Regions from separate parts of the Homo sapiens genome. Here all the other regions are linked to region 3. Evidence: promoter capture Hi-C in human tissues and cell types (Jung and others, 2019). All regions are on one chromosome and are shown on one strand. Each heading gives the region's core, a stretch centred on a gene start or on the middle of the fragment in contact. The rest is flanking DNA. Distances are from core to core; before and after follow the strand shown.

The links. The method cuts DNA at HindIII sites, captures the fragments that hold promoters and counts their contacts. A contact is called where the count stands out against the background at its distance.
Region 1: a contact is called between a fragment that was not itself captured here and the fragment with the promoter of TEX19 in region 3, in 7 of the 25 tissues and cell types used here (dorsolateral prefrontal cortex, heart right ventricle, lymphoblastoid cells and 4 more).
Region 2: a contact is called between a fragment that was not itself captured here and the fragment with the promoter of TEX19 in region 3, in 2 of the 25 tissues and cell types used here (bladder and spleen).

The regions. Positions count from the first base shown.
Region 1 is chr17:82,134,087-82,136,802 of GRCh38, reverse strand. CCDC57 (coiled-coil domain containing 57) reads left to right here. Exons shown (of 19, transcript NM_001394669.1): 16 at 2,609-2,716. Among named protein-coding and RNA genes, the nearest start is that of FASN, 37 kb to the right of the region's middle. The HindIII fragment of the contact is 3,997 bases long and covers 1-2,716 here.
Region 2 is chr17:82,591,941-82,594,640 of GRCh38, reverse strand. All of the region lies in intron 8 of FOXK2 (forkhead box K2), which reads right to left. Among named protein-coding and RNA genes, the nearest start is that of FOXK2-AS1, 4.9 kb to the right of the region's middle. RefSeq lists silencers at 1,241-1,441, 2,554-2,700. The HindIII fragment of the contact is 5,736 bases long and covers 1-2,700 here.
Region 3 is chr17:82,357,895-82,360,594 of GRCh38, reverse strand. TEX19 (testis expressed 19) reads right to left here and starts at 1,348. Exons shown (of 2, transcript NM_207459.4): 1 at 1,310-1,348. RefSeq lists a silencer at 1-162. The HindIII fragment of the contact is 14,968 bases long and covers 1-2,700 here.

The DNA of each region.
Region 1 (2,716 bases), core at 47-2,546, 220 kb after region 3:
GAGACTAACCTGGGCAGAATAGTGACACCCTGTCTCTACTAAAAAACAAAAAACTTGGCTGGGTGTGGTCCCAGCTACTTGGGAGGCTGAGGTGGGAGGATCGCTTGAGCCCAGGAGGTGGAGGCTGCAGTGAGCCGCGATTGCACCACTGCACTCCAGCCTGGGTGACAGAGCAAGACTCTGTCTCAAAAAAACTAGTTTTCTTTTTTTTTTTTTTTTTTTGGTACTATACATATAAAATGTACTGTTGAAAGCTCATGAAGTATACAAAGTATACAGTTCAGTGCATTAAGCACGTCAAGAATGTTGTGCGAGCATCATCATTTGTTCCAGAATTCCTTTCACTTCAGAGGAAACCCCACACTCATTCGCAGTTGCTTCCTGTCCCCCGCCCAGCACCCACATTCTGCCTCCATGCCTTTGCCTGTTCTGGACGTTTCACTTCAGCAGGATCCCACAGGATGTGTCCCTTTGTGCCTGGCTTCTTTCCCTCTGTGTCCTGTTTGAGGGTCCCTCGTGCTGGGGCGTCTGCACTTAATTCCTTTCCATGGGAAGAGCTCTTTGCTGGGGGACAGGCCACTGTAGGCATTTGTCCATCAGTTTGATGGACATTTGGATGGTTTCCGCCTTTGGGCTATTGTGAATAATATTGCTGTGAACATTCAGTTCTCTTGGATGCCTCCCTAGAAGTGGCCTTGCTGGGTCATGTGGGAATTCTGTGTCTAACCTGGTAAGGAGCCACCAAACCGCCTCCCATGCCCACCAGCTGCGCACGAAGGTTCTGATTTCTCCACATCTGCACCAGCACTTGCTATTTTCTGTCGGGGTTTTTTTTAATTAAGAATACTTTTATTGCATATCTTTAAAAACTTTATTTTTTTTATATTTAAAAAAATTTCTTTTAAAAATAGAGGTGGGATCTCACTGTGTTGCCCACGCCAGTATCCAACACCTGACATCAAGGATCCCCCCCACCCGGCCTCCCAGTGTGCTGGGGTTACAGGTGTGAGCCACCGCACCCAGCTGTTTTCTATCCTGTTGATCCCAGCCAACCTAGTGGGTGTGAGGCGGGATCCCATAGTGGGCTTGATTTTACATTCTCCTGGTGACCAATGGTGTTGAGTGTCTTCAGGAGGTTTTTGCCCACACGTGCATCTTCTGACTTCATGGCTTTTAAATTCAGGTGTTTATAAACCAAGGGAAACACGTTCATTTCCAAGTGTCATCTTTGGGTTCTTTTATTGCGTAGAAGAAACTGATGCTTTACTTGAGGGCCCATCTCGGGATGTCCACAGGGCAGAGCTAATCCTGCGATGCTCCTCAGATGTTGATCATAAGCAATATGTTCATCATGGCTAACTTCAAGTTAATTGATAAAAAAGCTTTAAAATTTTTCTGTTTTGACCAGGCACATGGCTCACACCTGTATTCCCAGCACTTTGGGAGGCCAAGGCGGGCAGATCACCTGAGGTCGGGAATTCGAGACCAGCCTGACCAACATGGAGAAACCCCGTCTCTACTAAAAATACAAAATTAGCCGGGCGTGGTGGCGCATGCCTGTAATCCCAGCTACTTGGGAGGCTGAGGCAGGAGAATTGCTTGAACCCAGGAGGTGGATGTTCTGGGGGTGTCGAGATCGCGCCACTGCACTCCAGCCTGGGGGACAAGAGCGAAACTCCATCTCAAAAAAAAAAATGTCTGTTTCAATTTCCAATATGTGAAATGTCAACAGTTATAAACACCCTCCAAAAACCTTGTTGGAATCCTCAGTGAGTTTAACGAAACTGATTTGTAATCCTGGGAAATGTTATTTCAGTAATTATGTCTTCTGATGTGTCTGCTTAGAGAAGGAGCAGATCTTTACATAACATAACATGAATGGAATTGATGAAAGGATCTCGTTTGATGTGGGGTCATTTCTAAGTAAGCTAGCATGCCGAAGCTTTGAGTAGAACCATCATTTTTAAGTTGTTATACTTAAGCTTTTGCTTCTTTTGTTTGTTTGTTTGCTTGCTTTTTGAGATGGAGTTACCCAGGATGGAGTGCAGTGGCATGATCTCGGCTCGCTGCAACCTCTGCCTCCCGGGTTCAAGCAATTCTTCTGCCTCAGCCTCCCGAGTAGCTGGGATTACAGGTGCCCACCACCACGCCCAGCTAATTTTTGTATTTTTAGTAGAGACGGAGTTTCACCATGTTGGCCAGGCTGATCTCGAACTCCTGGCCTCAAGTGAGCAACCTGCCTCAGCCTCCCAAAGTGCTGGGATTACAGACGTGAGCCTCCGCACCTGGCAAGTTTTTGCTTCTTCTTTGTGCCTGCCACAGAAAGGGCGTCTGGGTGCTTCTGTTAGCGAATGTGCTTGCTGCCCCCGCTGTGAGGACAGCAAGGGCTGTGTGTGGCAGGGGCGTGGCATTGTGTGTGCAAGAGCTCTACCGAAATGCTGTGTGTCACAGTTCACTGTTGTCCGGCCCTCCCCAAGTTCTCGATGTAATGGAAGTTACTTTGGTTTTGAAAAGGAACATGCTGTTCTTTCTGAGTGTTTGCATTCAACACAAGAGGAATCCAGAAGTGATGCACAGAGAACAAACTCTGTCCCCATCCCATTCCCAGGGTGGCTGTTGCACCACGCCCTCCCTCCTGCCCCTGAGGCCCGGAAGCCAGGCGAGGAGCCCAGGAGGCCTTTGGATCGCAGCCCACCTTTGGGACAGGTGCAGCCCC
Region 2 (2,700 bases), core at 157-2,656, 230 kb before region 3:
TCACTGATTCAGAGGGCGGCTTTTGGAAAGATGACTGCGGAGATGCATTCACATTTTTGGCCTTCCATGCACACTAATCCTCCCCACATAAATTCCAATATTTTCAAACTGAAGTGTCTGGAGCATTTTTTTTTTTTTTTTTTTTGAGACAGTCTCGCTCTGTCGCCCAGGCGGGAGTGCAGTGGCGCGATCTCAGCTCACTGCAAGCTCCACCTCCCGGGTTCATGCCATTCTCCTGCCTCAGCCTCCCGAATAGCTGGGACTACAGGCGCCCGCCACCATGTCCAGCTAATTTTTTGTATTTTTGGTGGAGACAGGGTTTCACCGTGTTAGCCAGGATGGTCTCAATCTCCTGACCTCGTGATCCGCCCGCCTCGGCCTCCCAAAGTGCTGGGATGACAGGTGTGAGCCGCCGTGCCCGGCCTGTCTAGAGCATTTCTTAGCGGCCAACTTTTACTCCACAGGCAACCTACGTCATAACACTTGACAACACCCCAGTTGTGGGCTGTGTGGGTACTACACGCAGCAAGCCCCTCCGAGACCTCCAGGAAGCATCAGAAGACCCTATACTGTGGACAGAGACGCCGGAGCAGCTCAGACACGAGAGCAGCTGCTCCACTGCCACCGCCACAGCGATGATGGGTGCGGCTCCCGCAGAACACAGGCCCCGACCCGAGGCCTCGCACCTCCTCGTCCGCGTGGCCTGATCCCGCTGCTCTGGGGCTGTCAATCCAGTGGCGGCAGCTGCTGCTCTGCCTGGAAAGGCTCCGCTTTGAGGCTGGGTGTGAAAGACGTCCAGGGACCCTCAGACGTCACTGCCGTTTTACATGCTCACAACGCAACACCCATCGTCACTGTGGGACCAGCTAGGGATACCCACATCATCAAATCCTCACCCCAAATCTGGCTGCCAGATCCCCACCGAGGCACGCGTGAGCACCTGGCGGCCACAAGGGACCCGCAGCCTCAGCCCGGCTCCCCTGTGTCCTGCTCTGTGCCGATGCACTGCTCCCTCTGCAAGGGTCCTTGTGAGGGACATGGGACCGTAATTCCTCTGTGGGGCCGGGAGCCAGAAGGCTCGGAAGGCCCACACTCTCCCAGGTATGTGGCCTGCAGGCGTGGGGCTATAGCCGTCCAGCCAGCTGATCCTGGCACAGGCACCCGCACAGCACGCGGTGAACAGGGCTGGGCTCCGCCAGGGGGGCGCGGGGCTTCATCTACCTTCCTCTGTGCCTATCGCTCTCCTTTCCTTCCTTCCTCTTTCCCTCCCTCCCTCCCTCCCTCCTTCCTTCCTTCCAGAAACTGCTGCGTACCCTTTCAGAATAAGAGCCTGTGCCCGGTACAGGGAGACCTTCACAGGGTCTGCTTTCAGAATAAGAGCCTCTGCCTGGCACAGGGAGACCTTCACTGGGTCTGCTTTCAGAATAAGAGCCTCTGCCTGGCACAGGGAGACCTTCACTGGGTCTGCTTTCAGAATAAGAGCCTGTGCCCGGTGCAGGGAGACCTTCACGGGGTCTGCTTTCAGAATAAGAGCCTGTGCCCGGCGCAGGGAGACCTTCACTGGGTCTTTCAGAATAAGAGCCTGTGCCCGGTACAGGAAGACCTTCACGGGGTCTGCTTTCAGAATAAGAGCCTCTGCCCGGTACAGGGAGACCTTCACTGGGTCTGCTTTCAGAATAAGAGCCTGTGCCCGGCGCAGGGAGACCTTCACAGGGTCTACTTTCAGAATAAGAGCCTGTGCCCGGCACAGGGAGACCTTCACGGGGTCTGCTTTCAGAATAAGAGCCTGTGCCTGGCACAGGGAGACCTTCACAGGGTCTCCCTCTGCCAGCGCGAACTGGGCATTTCACTCTCACTGCGAAGCGTGCGCCCTCACACCAGGCGCCACAGCTGAGATGCAGAGAACCCCAGCCAGCTTGAGGAGATGCCCCAGGAAACACTGGAGTCAACAAATGATATTTGAGGACCACGTAACTGCTACACAAGGAAGAAGAGCAGAGTTAGGCAGGAGGGAGCAAACGATCAAGGCAGGAACAATGTTAACGAAAGAAGCGAAAGGCAGGGCCTGAGGAGAATGTCGCAGGGTGAAGCAGCAGCAAAGCCCAGGCTTCCCAGCAGGGCTGGTCAGGCAGGCCTGTCCAGACAGGGAGTGGCCCCGTGAAGGGCCTCATGAGGTTCCTCCACTGTGAGGCTTGAGCTGTGGCAACACCTTCCACTGACAGTGATCTGTGAACCCTTAAGAAGGTGACAGAAAGAAAACAAGAGGACACACATGTGAGCCCCATGAAGGACCAGGACAGTAGAGAGGCCGGAGGAGTCAATATGTGAGCCAAGAGATGCTCCAGGACCGCAGCTCAGCCCAGGAGCACACTGAGCAGGCGAGGCCCTGGCCAAACACAGCTCAGCCCCGAACTCCCAAATCAAAACGACAACACTGGCTGGGTATGCTGGCTCGTACCTGTAATCCCAGCACTTTGGGAGGCCAAGGCTAGAGGATCACCAGAGTCCAGGAGTTTGAAACCAGCCTGGGCAACATAGTGAGACCCTGTCTCTACAAAAAATACAAAAACTTAGCTGGATGTGGTGCTGCACACCTGTAGTCCCAGCTACTTGGGAGGCTGAGGCAGGAGGATGGCTTGAGACCAGTAGGTCGGGGCTGCAGTGAGTTGAGATCTCGGCACTGCACTCCAGCCTGGGTGA
Region 3 (2,700 bases), core at 99-2,598:
CTGAGGGAAACTGGGGGAACCTGAGGGAAACTTGAGGGAAACTGGGGGAAACTGAGGGAAACTGGGGGAACCTGAGGGAAACTGAGGGAACCTGAGGGAACCTGAGGGAAACTGGGGGAACCTGAGGGAAACTTGAGGGAACCTGAGGGAAACTGGGGGAACCTGAGGGAAACTGAGGGAACCTGAGGGAAACTGGGGGAACCTGAGGGAAACTTGAGGGAAACTGGGGGAAACTGAGGGAAACTGGGGGAACCTGAGGGAAACTGAGGGAACCTGAGGGAAACTGGGGGAACCTGAGGGAAACTGGGGGAAACTGGGGGAACCTGAGGGAACCTGAGGGAAACTGGGGGAACCTGAGGGAAACTTGAGGGAAACTGGGGGAAACTGGGGGAACCTGGGGGAAACTGGGGGAACCTGAGGGAAACTGAGGGAACCTGAGGGAAACTGGGGGAACCTGAGGGAAACTTGAGGGAAACTGAGGGAACCTGAGGGAAACTGGGGGAACCTGAGGGAAACTTGAGGGAAACTGGGGGAAACTGGGGGAACCTGGGGGAAACTGGGGGAACCTGAGGGAACCTGAGGGAAACTGGGGGAACCTGAGGGAAACTTGAGGGAAACTGAGGGAACCTGAGGGAAACTGGGGGAACCTGAGGGAAACTTGAGGGAAACTGAGGGAAACTGGGGGAACCTGAGGGAAACTGGGGGAACCCGAGGGAAACTTGAGGGAAACTGGGGGAACCTGAGGGGAACTTGAGGGAAACTGGGGGAACCTGAGGGAAACTGGGGGAAACTGAGGGGAACTTGAGGGAAACTGAGGGAACCTGAGGGAAGCTGGGGGAAACTGAGGGAACCTGAGGGAAACTGAGGGAAATTTGAGGGAAACTGGGGGAAACTGAGGGAAACTTGAGGGAAACTGAGGGAACCTGAGGGAAACTGGGGGAACCTGAGGGAAGCTGAGGGAAACTTGAGGGAAACTGGGGGAACCTGAGGGAAACTTGAGGGAAACTGAGGGAACCTGAGGGAAACTGAGGGAAACTTGAGGGAAACTGAGGGAACCTGAGGGAAACTGAGGGAACCTGAGGGAAACTGAGGGAAACTTGAGGGAAACTGAGGGAACCTGAGGGAAACTGAGGGAAATTTGAGGGAACTTGGAGAACCTTAGGGAACCTGAGGGAAACTGAGGGAAATTTGAGGGAAACTGAGGGAACCTGAGGAATCCTGGCCCCGCTTCAGCCTCCCAACCCCTCACCCAGCACCAGGCCGTGTCTCCGAGACCCCTCCTCAGAGACCCCTCCTCGGGAGATCTCACCATCCTGGTGTCTCTGTTCATGTGGGCACCCAGGGAAAGGAGGAGGCAGAGCCCATTTGGGTATATAAAGGGCCATTTCCCATGGTGCTCTGGGCTCATCTGCATATCTCCCATGAGCCTCAGTTTCCAGGAAATGAAAGTGCTGAGTCACCAGCTCCCTCCAAGGAGGGCCATGTGCAGCCCCTGGGCACCTGCAGGAAGGCCCTGGAGAGGCAGCTCCTCTGGGGGCTGGAGATTGGGGTGGGTGCTCTCCGTCTGCAGGCTGGCACAGGGTGAGCATCCAGCCTGTGGTTGCTGGCCCGTCGTGGGCACGACGTCCTGGTCCTGCCGCGTTTGTAAAACGTGATCCCTGCTTTGCTGTCTCTGTCTTAAAGTTCTCTGAATTTTAAGAACCAGCCAATTGTCAATTAGTTATTGTTTAAACACATTTTCCCCTTTGTGGTTCATCTCTTCGCTCTTTAAACAAGACGCTTATAAATTAACACTTGTTTTTTCAGTAGACTCTATTTTTTACAGCAGTTTTAGGTTCATAGCAAAATTGAGCCAAAAGCATGGAGCTCTCCCACCGCTCCCCTGCTCCTGCAGGTGCACAGCCTTCCCCAGTCCTCCCGTCCCAGCCATTTGTTACACGTTGTTATTATCATCATCGCCCTCTGCAGTTTCCATTATGCTTTCCTCCGGTGCTGTGCATTCTGCAGGTTTGGACACATGTATAATCATGCAGACCCACCACTCTAATATTGTACAGACGGGTTTCTCCGCCCCGATTCATCTGTGTTCTGCATTTTCATCACTCCCTCTCCCAGCCCCTGGCAACCAGGAATCTTTTGACTGTCTCCTTAATTTTGCCTTTTCCAAAATGTCACAGAGCTGGACTCATACATTATGTAGCCTTTTCAACTTCTTTTTTAGTAATACGCACTTTGGTTCTTCCATGTCTTTTGTGGTTTGATAGTTCACTTCTTTTTTTTTTTTTTTTTTTTTTTGAGACAGAGTCTTGCTCTGTCACCCAGGCTGGAATGCACTGGTGAAATCACAGCTACTACAGCCTCAACCTCCTGGGCTCCTGTGATTTTCTCACCTCAGCCTCCCAAATAGCTGGGACTACAGGTGCTGGTGCACACCCCGATAAGTTTTGTATTTTTTGTGAGACAGGGCCTCACCATGTTGCCCACACTGGTATCAAACACTTGGGCTCAAGTGATCCGCCTGCCTCTGCCTCCCACAGTGCTGGGATTACAGACGTGAGCCACCTTGCATGGCCAGCTCACTTATTTTTTAACACTGAATGGTATTCCATTGTCTGGATGTACCATGGTTTATTTATCCATTCACCTATGGAAAGACATCTTGGTTGCTCCCAGGTTTGGGCAATTATGAATAAAGCTACT